Regions from separate parts of the Homo sapiens genome. Here region 1 is linked to region 2. Evidence: promoter capture Hi-C in human tissues and cell types (Jung and others, 2019). All regions are on one chromosome and are shown on one strand. Each heading gives the region's core, a stretch centred on a gene start or on the middle of the fragment in contact. The rest is flanking DNA. Distances are from core to core; before and after follow the strand shown.

Region 1 (4,921 bases), core at 20-2,519, 130 kb after region 2:
ATCTGTACTTTTTTTGCGAAAAGAAAAAAAAAGCCAAAAAGACATTGTTCTCAAGTCTTAAGTTACGAGGAGCTGCAATTTACATTGTTTTTCATTATGGGAAGATCTTCAAAGATTGTAATTGTGAGTTTAATTTACTAACAAGGAGCAGACATGAGTCTTCTTGACTGAGAATGCAAACATACTAATTTAAAAGTAGATTTATATGTATTGTATTAGTGCTTCCTCCTGTGTACATATACTGGTTTGATCTTTGCCCTTTTACTTTTCATTAGTATTTGAAATTAGAAGTCAGAAAAGTTGATTCTTAATTTTCATATACACTACAGAGGATTTATCTGTAAATATTATTTATTTCAAATTTTCCTATGTATGTATAAGTTTGTTCTCATATAAACAATACCTTTAAATAACTAAAGAATTAAGATAGAATGTAAGAGCTCAGAAACATAGGAAGAGTGAGCCAAATAAGGAAAAAACACTTTCGTGTTTGAAGAAAAGGATGGACGAATAGGGAGGTGGAGAGAAGGAAGGAAGGAAGGTGTTCCAGATGGTTTTGAAATTTGTGCAGTAGAGGAGAAGATTCTCAAATGTCATGTGGTTTTCTGAAGAGACAAAAACAGGACTTTAATGTTGATGACAGAGTAGATAAACTGGAAGTGAGATAGTGAAATTCATTTTTATCTACATTTCCTCTCAATTCTCACCCTTTATGGGAGCTCTTTTTCTTCATCCTGAGAAAATTCAGATAATTAAATGCAGTTAAGAGTGCAAACTAAGAGAAGAAATACAACAATGTCCCATTAGGAAGGTTGTGGCTGATGAAGGCTTAAAATACTTGCTACCACTTAACAAGTAAAAATGACTGCAATGTCATAGAATATTCTTCAAATGTCTTTAACAAAAAATCCAAATAAACTAGAACTAAATGATGGCCGGTTTACGTTTCAAGATGAGAAAGCGAAGTGAGGAGGACTGGTTTTGATCTGCAGCAATCATCTCTTCAATAGATACTTTTTTACTGAGATCCTCAACTATACAGTTCTGAGCTAGGCACATGCAAATTAAAGAGTTGCGTGAAATATGGTTCATTTTATTGAGAACCTTACTCTTTACCCCCCAGTTTCTATAATGCAAGTACTATAATGTATATCTCTCCTAAATGAATAATATAAATGAAGTGTGACCCAGATATCAGCTGATTCCTTTGACTGCACAAGTGAATTGCTTTTAAACCAACATAGCCTTGATGCAAAATTCAGCCACTTCATCAGCTTCCTTAAGAAATCCAGTCATATCAAGGATTTTGTGAATTCTCTAGTTTTGCTGAAGACTTTTAGTGTCAAGGGGAAGTGTCACATCACATAGCACACGTATCACTTGAAAAACTCCCTTTATGCAATCTCTTCCCAGGCCTCGCCTCTTAACTTTAATCGCCTCTCCACCTCTTCTCCTAGGCAGCTCTCAACACAGCTTCTCAGCAATTCAGGCTGAGTAGCTTCCTGCTTTGACAAGAAACTTGCCTGCCATTAGAAACACAGGCCTGGGGGATTTATTTCAACCCCTATTTTTCAACCCACAGGCTTATCAAAGATCCTTTTCAATAGAGCTGATTCTTCCTACAAAGAAATTTCTAACCAGCATCTAAAGAAAATTTTCTCCGTATGATTTTTTTAGAAGCACAGAGAAAGAAAAAATCACTTCAAAGTAGTGATCAAGAAGCTGGATCTTGAAGAAATGTATATCAATCAGAATAGGATTTGTTACGCTGCTTCGACAAATAGCACCAAAAACCTCAGTGGCTTAACACAAAAGAGTTGTTTCTTGGGCACACAAAATCAGTGGTGAGTTCAGGCTATTCTCTGAGGCTGGCTGTCCTCCTTATACAAGCTCAGCATGTAAAGTTTCTTCCACTTTGTGACACCACACTCTTAACAAGTACCTCCATGATTGCAGCGGCAATAGAGAGGGCTAGGGGAGTTCATAGCAGCAAGTGAATTCTTCAGCCCCCAAAATAGCACACATACCCTTAATCACAGTCCTTTGTCTAGTGATCAGTTGCATGGTCATGCCCAATTCATGGGGAGGAGAGGTATAGAGGGACTGGGAAACACAGTGTATAGAAAAAGGGGAGGAGAGAAAGAATGGTGAGATTTTGAATATCTGCAAGATGGAAGGGGTTTTGGTGGCAATAATAGAGGAATAAAATAGAGAAGACAATGTGGTTTGGTTAGGATTTTATATTTGTGTTGCAGAGTAGTGGGATATAAATTTGGAAAGATAGTTTGGGATATTGTGAAAGGCCTTAGAGTGCAGGCCAAGAATCTGTTTTATTGGTGACATGGAGCTATACCGGTTTTGGGAAGTGTATGAATGATCCATTTGATGTCTTGTGTACTTGCTAGGTGGTGACTGCTGGGGCCAATTTGTAGTCAATTTAGAGACATGAAGATCAGTTAAAGACTTTCTTCCAAATCAGCTTAGTATAAGGAAAATACCTGCATTCTGGTGTTCTTGGGGAAAATGCAAAGGACACTGTCCTAATCCATCTTCCCTCTATGTGTGTCCCAGCTGAAGATTCTTTTTTGCATCCTATCTCACCTCATTCAATTAACATACCCTTTTAAAAAATCACTTTTAAGACCCACCAACAGGAAAATAAGATGCTGAATAACCACACATCACAAAATATTTATATTTACAAATACTAGTGATATCATGAGCGTTTAAAATGTGTTAGGATATCGCTATGTGAGGATGACAGGATTGATGTAGAAAACTCCCATTACATGACAGAGCAATGGAAACAAGGAATGATTCTGATTTATGACTGTATTTACCCAGTATGAATAAATAAATAGCTACTATTTATTATGTGCTTAATTACTATGTGCCAGACACCATGTTAGTACTTACATCCTTTAACATGACCCACAGGCCCAGGATGGTCTGGCACCAGCTACTTCTCCAGCCCCCATCCTTCCACTGAGCCCCTCTCACTCTGCAGTAGGGCTCTGGGCTCCTTGCCATCCTGCCTTCCTAGCTGGCTCTGACTACACTTGTCTATGATCAAATGTCACCTTCTCAAAATGCTCTCCCTGGCTACCCTACATAAAAGAGCAGCATCCCCAGTTATTTTCTATCTCTGTATAGTGCCTTGTTTGTCTTCATGAAGTTTGTTACCCCCAGAGAGATTCTGTATTTTTCATTTAGTACCTTCACTCCTTGCCAGAATATAAATTCCATGAGGTCAGAGATTTTTCTCTCCTGTAACAGTGCCTGGCACTCAATATCCATTTGGTCAATTAATACATGACTTATTTAAACCTCATAAGAACTCTATGAGGTAGGTACCATTAATTTTCCTATTTTATAAACGAAGAACTCAAGTCCTGGGGTGATTCAGTATCTCCTTCAAGGTTTTACAGTAAGTAATCTGCCAAGCCAAGATTAAAAGCCAGGACCGTCTGATTCCAAAGCCCCTACTTTTAGCCATAATACTCGTCTGGTGATGCGATACTAAGATCATGGTAATTAAAAGTTACTGTAAAATTATTCCTTGAGAATGTGTATGCTTGAGCCATTTCTCTGACATTAATATATATTTATTGAAAACATGATAAATATTTCTATATGTATGAGAAAGTGAACTTACTTCCCCCTTCTCCCCCTAAAAATGGTGTCTTGTGGAGCTAATAGATGGTGATCTCAAAGAGCGAATTTGCTCATATGGGCCAAATGTTTCCTCCTGCAGAGTGGGCTGCTTCCCAAAGAATTAGCCCTCCTCAAAATGAATTATTAACCCCAGCGTCCTGGCCAAATTCCCACTTGGATAGCCTAGGAACTGTTCAAAACTTGGAATCTATTGAAATTAGCCTGGCTTGATTGCAGTTTCTGCATTAATTGTGATATAATAGAGTTTCTCCAGAGATTTGAGCATATATTATTCTAATGTGTATAAGCTCACTTTGTCTCTTAATCTTTTTTAGTTTCTTCTTCCCCTCGTGAGATATAGCCTGAATTTCTTTATAAGTTTTTGTTTTTGTTTTAATTTCCCAGAATGAATGACAGTGAGCTCTTTTTTTCTTGGACTTGTCAAAGCTTTTTCTCACTTGAATGACTAGTTAGTCTCCTGGTCATTATCGCAGTGTGTTGCAGACATTAGCCACAGAAGTTTCTAGATCCCCAACTCTCTTGTGCAACTATAGCCTGGGCTAGGGAAAAGTTTGCTCCATGAAATTTTCCTAATTGTTTCTTTCAAGTTTCTTCAAGAAGCTTATGTTCTGGTGGGAGACATATAAATATTTTAAAGTTTAAATTAACTGACCTAATGGTGGAACTATTCAGGACTTCCATATTCATCCTACAGTTATTGGCTTTTAATTTCTTTAGGCAATTTTGTTAAATGTTATAGGCCACTTGTGTTGTCCATGAGCAGATATAGTATCACTTACATTCTGGAGGGACAGAGAGGTATGAGTTTAGTTAAATTACTAAATCTTACACAAAACTAAAATACCTTAGAAATTCATTGCCTTGCATTGTTTTGATGGCAACTGTAGACCTCATATAATTAATCACATCTTGCCAATATCACATAATTATTTTATCTGTAAGTTGACCTTGCTTGCCTTGAGTTGGTATAATCAAATCTTCAGTGTAATAGATTATATTAGAATGGGTAACATCACCAATGTTTTCATATCCAAAGTTTCTCCCTAATCTATATGAAGAATAAGAATGAAGATTTTGTTAAAAGACAAATAATTATTCCTAGGAAGTAGTTAGCCTCATGGATTTTCAACATAGGGAAAGAAATTGAGAACTCGAAGCTTAAGTTCTTGCATTTAATTCTGCCTGGATCACAAACAAGTAATAAGTCACAAATGCTTCCTGCGTTCGGTTCTTTACCTTTATCAAG
Region 2 (4,521 bases), core at 1,766-4,265:
TAATCCCAGCTACTCAAGAGGCTGAGGCAGGAGAATCGCTTGAACCCGGGAGGCGGAGGTTGCAGTGAGCCGAGATCGCGCCATTGCACTCCAGCCTGGGCGACAAAGCGAGACTCCGTCTCAAAAAAAAAGAAAAAAAAAGAAAAGAAAAGAAAAAAAGAAAAAGAAGATAAAGAAAGAAAAGAAAATATAGAAATCATCAATCTGTCTGAGTTGTTTTTACTCACACTGCAAGGGAAGGAATATTTTTCTAAAAATGCGACTTAAGTTTTTCTAAATGAAAGCTATAGAGATGCTAACTCACTTTACAGTATCACTATAAAAACAGAAAAAGAAACAGAAGGTAGCAATGTTGAATGTTTAAACCCTGCAAGGCAGAGGTTCCGCATGAAGTTGATCTTTACAAAAAAAGGTTTATCAAGGACACTGAGGAATTTCTTTTAAAAAGAAACGTAACTGGCACTTATTGAACAAGACATTTAAAACAACAATAATCCTATTGGCGACGATAAACTTAAATTCTTAAATTGAATTTAAGAATAATTAGAAGAGTAAAAACTGAGTACAAATTTCTCAGCCAGCGGCGCTGCACCGGGAACTTGGACCCACCAACATCAACAGCTTTGCAAAGTCGAAAACGCTCCGCAGCGTTTTTGTTTTTTTCCCCTCCCCACCCCGCCGCACTCTCAAACCTCCCGGTCCCGGCTAAACTGAATTCGCGTAACTGTCGATTGAAATAAAATTCTGGAGACCAACTTTTTCTTTTCTCTTTCATCTTCTTTTCTTTTTTACTCACCTTCTCTTAAATGTCGACGAGCAACTCAGCAACAAATAAGGATACTTTTAATCTTGGAGTTCTTCTAGGAAAAAAAAGAGGACGTGGAGGAAGTACCCTCCCCCCAACCTTCAGATTTCCTACCCGTCGGCTCTAGCAGGCTTGAAGCCCGGCAAAAAAGAGTGGCTGAAAACCTGGGCTACACTCTCCTCCCTGAAGCTCCGTGAGTCTGGCCGTCCCTGCTCGGGCCATTGGGCAGAAACCTCGCGGCCCGCAGCCCCTCTCCCTGGCGTCGCGCTATCCGCGCCTCTGCCAGCCCCTTCGCACTATCTTTCTTTATATGTGAGGGCCGATTTCCCGCAGACATCATTGTTATGATGGCTCATTTAATCAAACTGTTTAATTGCTCTGGTAATCACTATCATCATCACAGGTGCTCAATCATTCATCATTTTTGGAGGGCTTTATTGACCTCCGGAGTTCATTCCTCAGCCCTATTAAAACGAGGCCAAATTTCTCCGACTCCGCTTGGAGTCTCTGCAGGCTGCAATCTTAGCCTAGTTTCTGTTGCTCGAAAGCTTACAGTGAAGCAGGGAACATGGAACGGGGGCCAAAAAAAAGAGCCCTCCCACCCGCCCTCCTCCCCGCTCTCTCTCGCTCTCTCTCTCTCTCTCTCACACACAACACACACACAGAGTACTTTATTCTCTCTAATCAACCTCCCCCATCCCACCCTCCCTCCGCGGGAAAGTCGGTTAGACGCGGCTCGCGGAAGACACTACTCTCCACTTCTCAGAATGGGTTCAAAGTTGGGGAGGGATGCGGCTGTTGGAGAACAACAGTCCGCTTTCCACTCTCTGGGCCAGGGACTGGGAGGGCGAGAGCGAGAAGTTGGGGAGAGGACGCGCTTCCAGCGCCTGTCCGCCCGGCCGCGCCACAAGGGGCCGAGGGGCATGGGGGCTGCTGGGCGGCAAGGCTTGCGCGGGGTGACCGTGGCTCCGCCCCCAACTCCGGGCTCGTAGTGATTGACGCGCGGCCGCCGGGAAACCAGCCGCGCAGAGGTGAAGCCTGGTGCAGCTCGGGCCAGGGAGGACAGGGCACCGGCCACAACTAGTTTCCACCCAAACGGTGTGGGGTAGTTCCCTTCGTTTCCTTTTCCTTTTTGGAAAAGTTCTTTCGGAGCTGGCCCCATCTCCCTGACCCCGCGAAATCGCCCCTGTGTAATTAACACAGCCATTAGCAGGCGTTACCGCGGCCCGCCGCTGCGCCTCGGGCGACCACAACAAAGCTGGGCTGTGAGCGCCGGCCACTCCTCCTCGCCCGGCAACTTCTTTCTCCCCCACTCTCTCCGTCTTTTCCTCCTGTGCTTCCCAGCTCTGAGTGAGATCCACTTTGGAGACGCACACTAGTCGCGCGCGCGCACGGGCGCGCGGGCGCGCGCGCGCACACACACACACACACACACACACACACACACACACACACGCCTTTGGCTACATCGGACCCAGATGACTGCCTCCTCACTTCCTCCCTCCCGATTCCGCCGCGGCCCCCAAAGACTCTCGGGGTGGCCCCTTGTCCGCACCGCTTGGAGGGAGTGTGCTCTGAGTTAAGCTGGTCTCTTCTGGTCCTGGAAAAAAATGAGTATTGACAAGGTTGCTGGATCTGCGCAGAAAAGAAAGTGCCACTTAATAAAAAATTTAGCCCGGCAGTGGTACCGTCTGCAGAGCTTGCTGCCCTTGGACGTTAGCAGGAAGCCTTCGGGGTGCTGTAATCGGCGGGCAGAGGAGAGGGAGGCCGCGGAATTAAAAGGAACAAAAGCTAGAGCGCCATGCCAAACGTCCCCGGCAAGACCCAGTTAGGCAGGAGCCGGGAGTGATGGGAAAATGAACTAGAAGTAAGTTTTTTTTTTTTTTTAAATGAAAAGATCTGAGGCGGTACCGTACTTTCCCTGTGGTTTTCTGCAGTTTTCCTCTCTGCGCTCTCCCTGTCCTCTTCTCTCTCCCCCTCTCCCTCTCTCCCTGTTCGCGCGCGCGCGCGCGCAACACACACGCGCGCACGCACACACATACACACACACTCACACACACAGACACACTCTCCTTTTCCTCCCCCCCGCCGTCCCCCATCCCCGTGGAGGAGCAGGCTTGCTGATTTGCTCGGGTCCGCCCGGCTCGAGCCTCCCCTCCCCCTCCCGCCCCCCCGCCTCCCCCACCCCCCCAGCCGGGGCTGTCCGATCGCACTCGTTGCATATCAGAGGCTCGGCGCGGCGCGCTCCTCCTCGCTCCCGCTCCCCACTCCCGGGATGTGTCTCCGCCGTACGACGGGCTATGGCCACCACGACTTCCGGGTTCCGTCATTTCGTTCTCCCGCCGCCGACCCGCGCCGCCAAACTGAGGCTCTTCAATAAGCCAGGCAGCAGCCAACCTGCCAACACCTACTGACACTCACTCATCTCCCAGAGAGAGAAAGAGAGCGAGAGAGAGCGAGCGCGAGAGAGCGAGCGCGAGTGAGAGCGAGCGAGCGAGCGAGAAAGAGAGAGAGGGAGAGACAAAATACCTACCAGGAAAGGGGGGGAGGAAGTCCAATTTTTGCAAACTATTCATTTTTTTTTCTTGATTTTTCTCACTGCTTTCTTTGAACAATACTTTAAAGAGAGAGGATCGTATTATAGATACCGCGGGGGCAAAGCTAAAAAAGGGGGGAGGGGGGAGGAAAAAATTCAAGAAGCAGAAACCCCTCGCGGAGTTTTACTGGAAGAAAAAAACGGGTCTGAAAGATTCCTCCTCTTCATCATCATCAACCATCATTCATTCACTACCTTGACATTCCGGGCTTTGATTGACAGCTGGAGTGGCAAAAAGCCATGAAACACGACAGTTCGGTTACATGTGGGCTGCTGACGGGCCGCTCGTAACCTTCAGTTCGGGGGCTTGACAATTTTTTTCTTCTTTTTCTTCTTTTTCTTTTCTTTCTTTTTTTTTCCAACTGAGGGGAAGAGAAGAGAAAGAGGGGGAAAGGAGGACCGAAGAGGAGGAGGAGGGGAGGGGGGAGGAGGAGGAGGTGGAGGAGGAGGAGGAAGATCAGGAGGAGGAGGAAGAAGAGGAAAAAAGAGAAAAAGAAGAAATATCACAGAAAAAAAAATTCTTCGTTGTCTAGACTGGGCTTTTTTTCCCCCCTAAAAAATAGCATATTGGAGAATTGGGAGAAGTCTCTTTGGTTTGGAAAAAAAAAAAAGGAATCTTCAGCCTAGATCACTTTCTTATCCGGACTGGGATATTAAATATACGACACATCCAGGAGTTTATTGGAGCGCAGACTGATGGCGCAAAGGGTAGGTTTAAATCTCCAACACTTACCTAGATATAAATCCTCTCCTAAGAGGGGCCTGTCCCGATGCCTCCTCTCCCTTCAACGCTTCTGCTGCTGCTCGCTGCTTGATGATGGCGGCCAGTATTTTAAAAAATAGCAAAATTATTCATCGGCTTCTTTCCCTCCCGTGCCTCTGCGTGTGTGCGAGTGTGTGTGCGTGCGTGTGTGCGTGTCTGGGCGCGCGTGTTCCAGCGCTGTGCGAGCGGGCGGGCGGCGAGTGCGTGTGAGTGGTGTGTGTGTGTGCGTGTGCAATCGTTACACGCTTTCGCCTCGCTCCAGCTTTTACCCCAGCAGCGCGATTCCCCCGGTTCTCCTGCTGCCGCTGCTGCGCCGCTGCCGCCGTGGCTCGCGCGGCTCGGGGCGGGCACGGGCTG

The links. The method cuts DNA at HindIII sites, captures the fragments that hold promoters and counts their contacts. A contact is called where the count stands out against the background at its distance.
Region 1: a contact is called between a fragment that was not itself captured here and the fragment with the promoter of MEIS2 in region 2, in 1 of the 25 tissues and cell types used here (H1 embryonic stem cells).

Annotation. Positions count from the first base shown.
Region 1 is chr15:36,965,008-36,969,928 of GRCh38, reverse strand. All of the region lies in intron 8 of MEIS2 (Meis homeobox 2), which reads left to right. Among named protein-coding and RNA genes, the nearest start is that of MIR8063, 5.4 kb to the left of the region's middle. The HindIII fragment of the contact is 6,570 bases long and covers 1-4,554 here.
Region 2 is chr15:37,099,043-37,103,563 of GRCh38, reverse strand. MEIS2 (Meis homeobox 2) reads left to right here and starts at 3,015. Exons shown (of 12, transcript NM_170675.5): 1 at 3,015-4,109. The coding sequence starts at 4,098. It overlaps LOC124903465 (a long non-coding RNA gene), which reads right to left and starts at 4,316. Exons shown (of 2, transcript XR_007064581.1): 1 at 4,135-4,316; 2 at 1-3,763. RefSeq lists silencers at 1,645-1,784, 4,234-4,293, 4,444-4,521 and enhancers at 2,485-2,764, 3,015-3,174. The HindIII fragment of the contact is 11,980 bases long and covers 1-4,521 here.